Regions from separate parts of the Homo sapiens genome. Here regions 1, 2 and 3 are each linked to region 4. Evidence: promoter capture Hi-C in 16 types of primary human blood cells and fetal thymus (Javierre and others, 2016). All regions are on one chromosome and are shown on one strand. The core of a region is centred on a gene start or on the middle of the fragment in contact, and the rest is flanking DNA. Distances in the headings are between cores, read along the strand shown.

Region 1 (2,700 bases), core at 32-2,531, 450 kb after region 4:
TGACATCCTGGATACTCACCATCTTCTTGCTTCACAGCCAAACTAACTGAAAGCAAGTAGTTTTACTTAGGACCACAAATTGCCTCCACCTTTCAATCCCATAAAGCAATTTTAAATGTGGTGACAGCAAGCTGTGAGAGCTGAAGAAATTTTATAGAGGCTTGCTATAGAATTTCAGGCATTGTAGCCTGGTTATAAATAGCTGAGAGACAGTTTCTACCATTAGATCACTTTAACATCCAGCAATTGATCTGTATCTTTCAGTACTTGAAGTGAAAGAGGGAGAACCACAAATTGTGATGCGGCATCTAAGAATAGTTAATTAGTGCATGGATTATGTTTTCAAACTGGAAAACAGTGGGCAATGCTCAGAAGTTAAGAGGTGAAATATGGAGGCATTAATTCATTTCTCTGACTATAACTTATGAGTACTTAATGTGTGCTCTGCACTGTTTTAGGAGCTGGGGAAACATCAGTAAACAAAACAAGTTTGTGCCACCACAAAGCTTATCTTCTAGTGCAAGATACAAATAATAAAAAGTTAACAAATGTGTAATATAATGTAAGGTAATAATAAATGCTTTAAGAAAAAATATGCAGGATGAAGGGATAGAATGATAGGTGTTCTAATGTAGATGAAATAGAGACTGCTTCTTTGACAGGTGACAGACAGTTGAGCAGAGACCTGACTGAAGCGATAGAGCCACTTATTGGAATACTGGGAGGAGAAATCTGTTCAGCAGAGGAAACTGCATAGACAAAAACCCCTAAATTGGGAAAAAGCATGGCTTTTTCAAGTAGCAGCAAGGAGGGCAGTGTAGAGTGGGATGAACAGGACATGCAGTTGGAAAGTAGAGCCAAGGATCATATTAAGATGGGCTTGTAAACTAAGGTAACAGGTTTGGATTTTATTTTGAATGTGATAAAAAGCCACTGGAGGCTTTAAACACAGAAATAATTAAATGTAGCATTTTTTGGGCTATAACAGACGAGTGGAAGCAAAGTATTTGTTATGAGGCAGTTGTAGTAGTTAGCAAAGTGAAGGTTTATGAAGAAAAGGATCAAAGTAGTAGCTGTGTAGTTGGTGAGAAGTGATGGGATTTGGAATGTATTTTGAAGGTAAATTCAGAATTTGCTAATGGTTTGGGTATGGAATATGAAAGACATCTAAAGAGACTACAGGTTTTGGGTCTAAGCCATTGGGCCAATAGTGATGCCATTAAATTACATATCTACAGATTTAAGAAGAGATGGCAGGAGGTAAACTGGAGGGAAGGCAGAATGACAGCCAAATAACTCTTATCAGGGCTGGACTGAAAGCAGGAAGTGGGTGAAGGTAGTCTGATGGGTTGGCTATGGAGTAAGTACATTAACCCGGTTTCATCATTTGCCTACATTTTTTCACATATCAATGTCTAATTACTGATGTTTCAGTAAGATGTGAACTCGCCGATGTTTTGCTTTCACAGTGGTTCTTCCAGTATCTTTTCATTATAATCTTAGCGGTTGTGTTAATCCATTAACTGCCTACAAAAAGTGGTTAATTGTTGCCATGTCTGGAAACTATGTTGAAGAAGCAGTTGGTTTCTTGGTTCCCTCTGCACTGGAGTGTGATCTGTGGTGACTTTTATGGATTGGGAAGAAAAGTGAAATAAATCATATGATAAATGAGCATTGGACTGGGAGTTAGGCCTACTGAGTTTCAGACAATCCCAACTCTATTAACTGTGTGACCTGGGATAGGACATCGAAACTCTAAGGGCCTTGGTTTTCTCATCTACCTAGTTAGTGGCTTAGATAATCTATATAATAGAATAATCCTTAGTACACTAAACTCTAGCCTGTAGTAAGACTGCACATTCTAATCTAAAATATTTATTTATAATAGTCAGTGTATTTGTAGGATGGCAATGGCTGAAAATAATAGTAGAAAACACACATGGAAAGCAGCTTTAAAAGTGAGGATAATTTATTATAACATAAAAAAAGATTCTGAGTTAAGGTGGCTCCAGATTTGATTAATATTTATTACCTTATAGGATTATTATGAAGCTTATCCTATGAGGTAATAAAGTTATCTCCACTTTACAGATGTGTTAACTGACAAGCAAAAAGTTTAATTCATTTTTTCGGTCACGAAGCGAGTAAGAAGTACAGCAAGGTTTTATTTACATAGGCTGCCTAACTCCTAATCACGCTTTTAATTGCTAGGCTCTACCGCCTTTTTTGGCCACTAAATCAGGACACTTTTAATGACCTTGTTTTCTTTGTCTCCTGATATCAAGATAAGTGGGAAACCATTTATATACTTGAAAAATAATAATCACCAGATTAACTACCCAGTACCGGTGAGAGCTGATTCATGGTCTTACAAGAGAAAGGTTGCTATTTTTAACATGCAGTGATAGCCTTTGACCACTAGAGGACACTTTGTAGACAACATCTTTTAGGACACAGCGACTGCCTTCACTAGCCTTAGCTCTTCAGTCAGTACCATGTTTTATGCCTCAGAAAAGAGGGTCCTCTGGCTACTGCTGAAAGTCTGCGTCATAAGCTCCTCGTGGCCATTTGGGGGTTCTAGCTTTGTCTCAGAGTGGCTCCCACGTTGGAGCTATCTTCCAAATTCTGTAAGTAATATAGGCTAGGTATTATACTTTCTACTTATGCTAAATGTACTCAGCTCTCCATTGGCACATCTGT
Region 2 (2,700 bases), core at 71-2,570, 430 kb after region 4:
AGTTCTATTTGGAATTAATTTCCAGTTTTATTCCATTGTGGTCTGAGAGGATACTTGATATAATTTTAATTTTCTTAAATTTATTGAGACTTGTTTTGTGACTTATCATATGGTCTGTCTTGGAGAATGTTCCATGTGCTGATGAAAGAATGTATATTTTTCAGTTGTTGGGTAGAATGTTCTGTAAATATCTGTTAAGTCTATTTGTTCTAGGATATAGTTTAAGTCCACTGTTTCTTTGTTGACTTTCTGTCTGGATTACCTGTCTAGTACTGTCAGTGGAGTATTGAAGTCCCCGCTATTATTGTGTTGCTGTCTATCTTATTTCTTGGGTTTAGTCATAATTGTTTTTATCAAATTGGGAGCTCCAGTAGTAGGTGCATATATATTTAGGTTTGTGACATTTTCCTGTTGAACTAATCCTTTTATCATTAAATAATGTCCCTCTTGATCTTTTTTTTTTTTTTTTAACTATTGTTGCTTTAAAGTCTGTCTTGTCTGATATAAGAGTAACTACTCCTGCTCACTTTTGGTTTCTATTTGCGTGGAATATCTTTTTCCACCCCTTTACCTTAAGTTTATGACAGTCCTTATGTGTTAGGTGAGTCTCCTGAAGACAGGAGATACTTGGTGGGTGGATTTTTATTCATTCTGCCATTCTGTATCTTTTAATTGGAGCATTTAATTCATTTACCTTCAGGATTAGTATTGAGATGTGAGGTACTATTTTATTCATCATGTTAGTTGTTGCCTTAATACCTTGTTTTTCTTTTTCATTGTGTTTTCATTGTATTGTTTTATGGGCCGTGTGAGATTTATGCTTTAAGGAGGTTTTACTTTGGTGTACTTCAGAGTTTCATTTCACTATTGAGAATTGTTTTACAGCATTTCTTGTAGTGTTGGCTTGGTAGTGGCAAATTCAGTGTCTGAAAAAGACTTTATCTCTCTTTCATTTATGAAGCTTAGTTTTGCTGTATATAAAATTCTTGGCTGACAATTGTTTTGCTTCAGGAGGATAATCATGGAATCCCAATCCCTTCTGACTTGTAAAGTTTCTGCTGAGAAATCTGCTGTTAATCTGATAGGTTTTTCTTTATAGGTTATCTGATGCTTTTGTCTCACAGCTCTTAAACTTCTTTCCTTTGTGTTGACTTTAGAAAACCTGATGACTATGTGCCTATGTGATGATGTTTTTGCAATAAATTTCCCAGGTATTCTTTGAGCTTCTTGTATTTGGAAGTATAGATCTCTAGCAAGGCCAGGGAAGTTTCACTCAATTATTGGCTGAAATAAGTTTTTCAAAGTTTTAGATTTCTCTTTTTCCTCAGGAACATCAATTATTCTTAGGTTTGGCTGTTGGACATAATTTCAAAGTTCTTGGAGGCTTTGCTCATTAATTTTTTTTCTTTGTCTTTGTCTGATTGGGTTAATTTGAAAGCCTTTTCTTTGAGCTCTGCAGTTTTCTCTTCTACTTGTTATAGTCTATTGTTGAAACTTCCCAGTGCATTTTATATTTCTCTAAGTGTGTCTTTCACTTCCAGAAGTTGTGATTGTTGTTTCTTTATGATATCTATTTCTCTGGATAATTTTTCATACACATCCTGTATTTAAAAAAATTCTTCAAGTTGGTTTGCACCTTTCTCTAGTATCTCCTTGAGTAGCTTAATAATCAAGCTTTTGAATTCTTTATCTGGGAATTCAGAGATTTCTTCTTGGTTTGATCCATTGGTGGGCAGCTAGTGTGATCTTTTTGGGGTGTTGTAGAACTCTGTTTTGTCATATTACCAGAATTACTATTTTGGTTTCTTCTCATTTGGGTAGAATATTTCAATGGAAAGGTCTGGAATGCAAGGCCTGCTGTTCAGATTCTTTTGTCCCATGGGCTGATCCTTTGATATGATGCTCTTCCACTTCCCCTAGGGATGGGGGTTCCTGAGAGCTGAACTACAATGGTTGTTATTGTTTTTCTGGATCTGGTCACCCAGTGGGGCTACCAGACTCTGAGCTGGTGCTGGGGAATATCTGCAAAGAGTCCTGTGATGTGACTGGTCTTCAGGTCTGCCAGCCATGGTTACCAGCACTTGCCAGTTTTTCAACTGTCTCATGGAATACGCAGTGGTGTGCTGCTTCTGTCAATGCATCTGTGAACTATTTTGGTTTTCCTGGTTCATTCCTGCAGTGCTTCTTGGAGCAAAAGTTAACGGTGTGAGTCTCCATGCATTGTTCTGTTTGTCCAAGTGAGAGCTGCACGTTAACCCTGTTTTCTATCTGCCATCTTGTCCCTCTACATATTATCGTTTATTCTTTTATATTACTTATGTATTTTCATATTTCCTCATTTGCTTTAAAAAGTTTTTGCTTGGCTGGGCGCGGTGGCTCACACCTGTAATCCGAGCACTTTGGGAGGCTGAGGCGGGCGGATCACGAGGTCAGGAGATCGAGACCATCCTGGCTAACACGGTGAAACCCGGTATCTGCTAAAAACACACAAAAAATTAGCCGGGCGTGGTGGCGGGTGCCTGTACTCCCAGCTACTGGGGAGGCTGAGGCAGGAGAATGGAGTGAACCTGGGAGGCGGAGCTTGCAGTGAGCCGAGATTGCACCACTGCACTCCCGCCTGGGCGACAAGAGTGAGACAGTCTCAAAAAAAAAAACAAAAAACAAAAAAACAAAGTTTTTGCTCAATCTATCTATTCTCCA
Region 3 (2,700 bases), core at 43-2,542, 410 kb after region 4:
GCGAGAAAACGTTAGTTCAGCTAATTCATTACTTTGAAATAGCCTATTATGTAAAATCAATCAGATCTGTCCTTGATTTTATCCAACATAAAGGAAACCTTTAAATATATCCACATGTTCACAACGTTCGAAAAGAAAGGACAGTGGTATATGATATTATCAATTGTTTAACTCTGTTTGATCCCCTTGTCTAATTCCATGTATGATAATGAACATGCTCCTACTGGTATGCAGCCTGCTTCCTGAGAACATATGCCCAATCAAACTCACATGTAAACTAGGGGTAGGTTTTCTTTTAAAACCAGGAATAAAATTAATGAGAAAAAAATAACAAAATACTTGAAATTGCATGATCTTCCTGCTCATTTGTGTGCTTTATTTAATTCTGCCAAATATTACCTTCATTTCCAGACGTGGATACTTCCATATGCCCAATGTGATGGATCTTTTTCTGGTCTTGTTAGAACTTCACTTTTAGGATTTTTAACCATCTATCATGTCCATGTGTTCGTACTTAAATGGCAGGGCACAGACAAACTTGGGCTGTGCTCCAAAATGATGAAGTGCTAACAGGTTCCTTTTTTGCAAAGCTGCTTCCCCCAAGTCCTGCAGCTAGAGTATGTATAGACCCAAAATCCTTCATCTGCAGTTTTGAAATCCTAAGAGTTCTGAAAAGGGAAGGTTTTTTTGAAACATATTTGGTGGCATCATTTAAACTGAACTGATGTGAATCTATTTATAAGCTTTCTCTCATGTCATGTAAATATTCATTGAAGTTGCTGCAGAAATATGGATGTGTTTGATTGTAGGGTATTTCCCCAAACCCAACTGAAGATTTTATGTAATATATAGGATATCACTCTTAATATATTCTATTTCTAAAATCCTCCAAAATTCCGAATTCTGTAACATCTGTCACCCTGATGTTTTTGGCTAAGGAACTGTAGATCTGTAAACATCACCCAACCATGGAATACCTATCCAATAAACTATTTTTTGAAGAAAAAGAAGACAGAAAAGCAACAGAACTCATTGTATGAGGAAAAGGTGGAAAGTGTCATTGAGAGGAAAACCTAGAGAGAGAAGAAAGGAAGTAGCCAGCTCAGATGAGATGAGCAGCCATTACTGGGCACAGTCCCCTTTGCAGAGTACAGGTACAGGGCACAGTCCCCTTTGCAGAACTCCCTGTATTCCCACTCTTGACAAACATTTGTGAAAAGGCTAGTATAAAGCATTCTATATGTTAGGGCTTAACTCTCTCAAACGCTAGAGAATAAATACAGTGGGTAAGCATATTTCAGAATAGAGAAAATCAGAAGTGTTGAGCAGAAATAGTAAAAGTAAGGAGATGGAATGATAAAGCTCACCTAGAAGAATAAATTTTGTGGATTTTATCCCAAGGACATGCAGGATTTATAAAGTAAATAAGTAAAAACATGCTATTTCCCAAAATGTTGTATTTTGATAAGTCTGGTGTATTTTAATTGAGTATGTATAGTAGCATTTCACTGCAATTACAATCTCATAAAGCAGGGTAAAACATATTGCATAAACACTGCGGCTCTAGTCAATGAGTCATAGTAAAACACTGTCCAGATTACCGCAATTAAAATTTACAGAAACCTTTTGTCGAGTATTATTATGGTTGTGGATTAACAAAATGACCCTGCTTGCTTTCATTGTTCTTTAATAAGAAATAACATTTTGATTTTAAGTTTCATTGATTTTTTTGCTTGGATTTTAGATGGGCAGTTTGCCAAGATAAATCTCATTGCTGTTTTTAAAAAAGTCTGAATACATTTTTAAAGAGATGATCCCTTTTGTTTTCTTACCAAGCTTTATTTGTTTTGCTCATATCTTTTCTGCTTTTCTCACTCATATTTTCTCCCTATTTTCCCCTCAGGATTGCTGGAAATGGGTGGGATGGGGTGAGGGTCATTGGCTGAGTCACCTAGTAGAAGGGGAGTATGGCATAATAGCACAATATAGCCTTTGGATTCCCACAAGCCAGGATTCAAATCTCTACTCAGTCATTTATAAGCTATGAGACTTGGAGAAACTTATCTCTGAGTTTCTTCATCTGCAAGATGAGGATAATTGCACCAAGTCTGTAGAACTGTTAGTAGAATGAAAGCTAATGTGTGTTAAAGGGCTTCGCATGAAGTAACACTTACTATATAACAGCAATAAGGGACTTTTCATTCTTTTCCTTAGGGGTTTTCCCCTTAAGAGAGTCTTTACAACTCTACAGAAATGGGAGGACAGAAACACACAAATAGATCCTTTCTCCTTCCTCTCTTCCTTCCTTGCTTCCTTTCTTCTTTCCTAATGATATGAGTACTTTGAACATTTATCATGATTTCATGAAAGCAGAGTATGTCACAAAATTTTGGGGCCAACTCTGTTGGGAACATTTGTTAGTGAAACATTCTTACTGAGTTACATTTAACAGGCCACAGTTTCCAGTTTTAGTGAAGCTTCAGTTCCCAATCTTAACCAGAATGCGTTTATTCAAAGACATTGATTGCCCATCCAAATAGATGCCAAGCACTGGGAATGTGGGAATAAATACATATGGAACCTGCTTTCAAACAGTTCACTGCTGAGTTGAGAAGAGACATGGAAAACAAATAATTAAAATGTTGCACAATAACCAGGATGAAAACATATGCTGTTAGGGAAAGAAGGAGGTGAAACTAA
Region 4 (2,700 bases), core at 164-2,663:
AGTTTAGATGGAAAATCAAACAGGATAATCTTCAAATACGCAGTAAGTCAAGCAGTATATCAGCATCCACCCTGAATATAAAAAGAAAAAAACTGACAAGACAACCAAGGAGCACGAATAATCCAAAAAAGGATGCCCACCTATCCTTTAAAAGAGCCAGTAGGTACAAGTGTGTAATTTTATGTTTTTTTAAAAAAAAATTTATATAACCCTAACAACTCCAATACAAGAAATAATGATTGGCATCTCCTCCATTCTACAGATAAAGAACGCGAAAAGACAAAAGTCACAATTGCCCAATTTTCCAAGGTCATACTTCAGATTAACAGCAAAACCAAGCCCATATTTGTCATTCAGCCGCCTAGTCTAATACTCCAAACACCAAACCACAAACGCTGTCAAATAATTCAAAATGGGGTAGGGAAAGCAACAGGGAGACATGAGTGAAACTCAAGGAACAGAGGACGCTATCTGCAATGAGTAAACAACCATTAGTGTTCGATGAGTCACTTCAGTTGATTCCAGCTGTTTATGAAATACTCCTGCACTGGGAAATACTATCGGTGGCATATCATAAAGCTGATAGCCCTAACTATGCATAAGATGTGCCCTCGGAACGCGAATAGGCACTATTCGACGAAATCTCCGCACGTAATTCTAGTTTCCAACGAAATTAGGCGTGTCACTGACCACCTCCGTAAACCAGCATGACCAATACTCCTACTGAAATGCCTAGGAAATAAATATTTGGACGCCTTCCTAGACAAGCACAGGATGGTGTAAATCTCCATTTCTCTCAGGAAACACGTCCTGCTGCTCACAACCACCAACCAACTCAGCAGCTTGGTAAAAACAGACCCAATACACTCGTTTCTTCTAAGCGCACAGCTAGCTGCCTAGCATCTATTCAGCTCCTCCCGAAGGAAGCATAAACATCTTCACCAAACTGTAGCAAAGAAGACAGAGGCAAGTCGGGTTAACGCTTCAAAGAGAGAAAAGACGCTGGAGTCAGAAGAGTAGACATAAAGAACTAGAGTCAAGAAACAGTGAATCGGGGGAAAAAAGGAACTAGAGAGCCACCTGTCCCTTAGTAAAGGTAATACGAATAAAAGCCTCTCTGCTCTGGGGCAGAAGAGCGCCGAGGCCTAGCTGGCCTTGGAGCAGTAGCCGGCTCTATAACTCCGCGGCTGAACTGGCATTCTCGGGAAACCAGCTGGTACCACCCAGTCTTCTCCTACAGACGCCACGGGTTGTCCGGACACAGAAAGTCCCTCGTGTCCCTCCCCCAACCAGCTGCCAGGGAGCAAAAGCATCCCCGTCCCAGAGAAAAGCCGAGGTCTTCCTGGAGGCCGTTACCTACCTTCCCGCTCACAACACCCGCCGCCGCCATGTTTCCTGCGCGTGCCTGGTAATGACGTAGCAGAACCTCACGTGTCTCTCGGACATACAACAACATCCGGCAAAACTAGAATAACATCCGGGCGGGAAAAGGGCGGGGAGTGGCGGGAAGGGAGTGGAGGAAAGGAGCCGGGCGGAAAAAAGCCGCCTGACGCGTGCGTGCTGAACTGGGCTCAGAGACGGCTGGGGTGGAGTCTCAGGCCTAACGCTACGCTTGTGCTTGCCCCACGTCCTCCCCAAGGAAGACTGCTAAAATAATGTGTACCTTACTTGTATTGGAGTTTGTCGAGACTCTGAAGCTAGCGCAGGCCACGCCAGTTTGGTGAGATGAAACGAATACCATACTGGAAGCCAGCAAGATTTGTCCTGGTTTTTTGTTGTTGTTGTAGAAAAGGAGTCTCGCTCTGTCGCTCAGGCTGGAGTGCAGTGGCGCGATCTCGGCTCATTGCAGCCTCCGCCACTCGGTTCAAGCGATTCTCAAGCCTCAGCCTCCCGGGTAGCTGGGATTACAGGCGCGCGTCAAACGCCCAGCTAATTTTTAAATTTTTATTAGAGACGAGATTTCGCCAATGTTGCCCAGGCTGGTCTCGAACTCCTGACTTCAGGTGATCCGTCCGCTTCAGCCTTTGCCCAGAGAGCTGGGATTACAGGCTTGAGCCACCGCGCCCAGCCCATTAGCCTGGTTTTGTGGCAGTAGGCAAATCACCAGTGCACTCGAAACCTCAGTTTCTTATAGTAAAATCAAGATAGTGGCGTTGCGGTGAAGATCCAAGAAAGAGCAGCACTAACATGGAGATATCCCAGGCACTATACATGGAGACTTTTCCCCTCTGTATATGAGGTTTCTCTATTTGTCTGGTCACTGCCACTCACACATGACCTCCAGCAAGGTATTTCGATAGGAACTGTGATAATACCACGCCCTCATAGCTGCAGAGCCCAAGGCACATAGTTTATAGCACCTACACATTACTTATTAGCTCTGTGACTTAAAGCAGGTTTCTAAATTTATCAGAGCTTCAGGATGTAAACTGGGAATTACTCCTGCATGGAGTGGTTGTAGGGATTTCATACGACAATACATGTGTGGTAAAATGATTTGTAAAGATACTAAGGTAAGAATTTTACTTGTTCTCAGTGCTGTAAAAGAATGCAGAGAATGATTATATACTACCCCCTTGATAACTCTGGCACAGATCTGGGATTTCCCTAGCTCCGGGGCAGAATAAAAAGTCCCTTTCACCAAAAACACTTGTGTCCATTGAGGTACTTCCGTCTTCACACAGTGGAGAGGGGTTAGAG

What was found. Contacts are between HindIII fragments. The CHiCAGO score rates a contact against its expected background, and 5 or more counts as called.
Region 1: a fragment that was not itself captured here is called in contact with the fragment with the promoter of TBC1D15 in region 4 in 1 of 17 cell types (activated CD4 T cells); the score reaches 6.9 in activated CD4 T cells.
Region 2: a contact is called between a fragment that was not itself captured here and the fragment with the promoter of TBC1D15 in region 4, in 2 of 17 cell types (total CD4 T cells and naive CD4 T cells). The highest score is 5.2, in total CD4 T cells.
Region 3: a fragment that was not itself captured here is called in contact with the fragment with the promoter of TBC1D15 in region 4 in 1 of 17 cell types (activated CD4 T cells); the score reaches 5.4 in activated CD4 T cells.

What each region holds. Positions count from the first base shown.
Region 1 is chr12:71,392,456-71,395,155 of GRCh38, reverse strand. No RefSeq gene overlaps it. Among named protein-coding and RNA genes, the nearest start is that of LGR5, 46 kb to the left of the region's middle. RefSeq lists a silencer at 2,313-2,607. The HindIII fragment of the contact is 1,546 bases long and covers 509-2,054 here.
Region 2 is chr12:71,409,368-71,412,067 of GRCh38, reverse strand. No RefSeq gene overlaps it. Among named protein-coding and RNA genes, the nearest start is that of LGR5, 29 kb to the left of the region's middle. The HindIII fragment of the contact is 713 bases long and covers 964-1,676 here.
Region 3 is chr12:71,425,717-71,428,416 of GRCh38, reverse strand. No RefSeq gene overlaps it. Among named protein-coding and RNA genes, the nearest start is that of LGR5, 13 kb to the left of the region's middle. The HindIII fragment of the contact is 1,093 bases long and covers 746-1,838 here.
Region 4 is chr12:71,838,472-71,841,171 of GRCh38, reverse strand. It overlaps TBC1D15 (TBC1 domain family member 15), which reads right to left and starts at 1,413. Exons shown (of 17, transcript NM_001146213.3): 1 at 1,361-1,413. The coding sequence starts at 1,390. The HindIII fragment of the contact is 6,842 bases long and covers 1-2,700 here.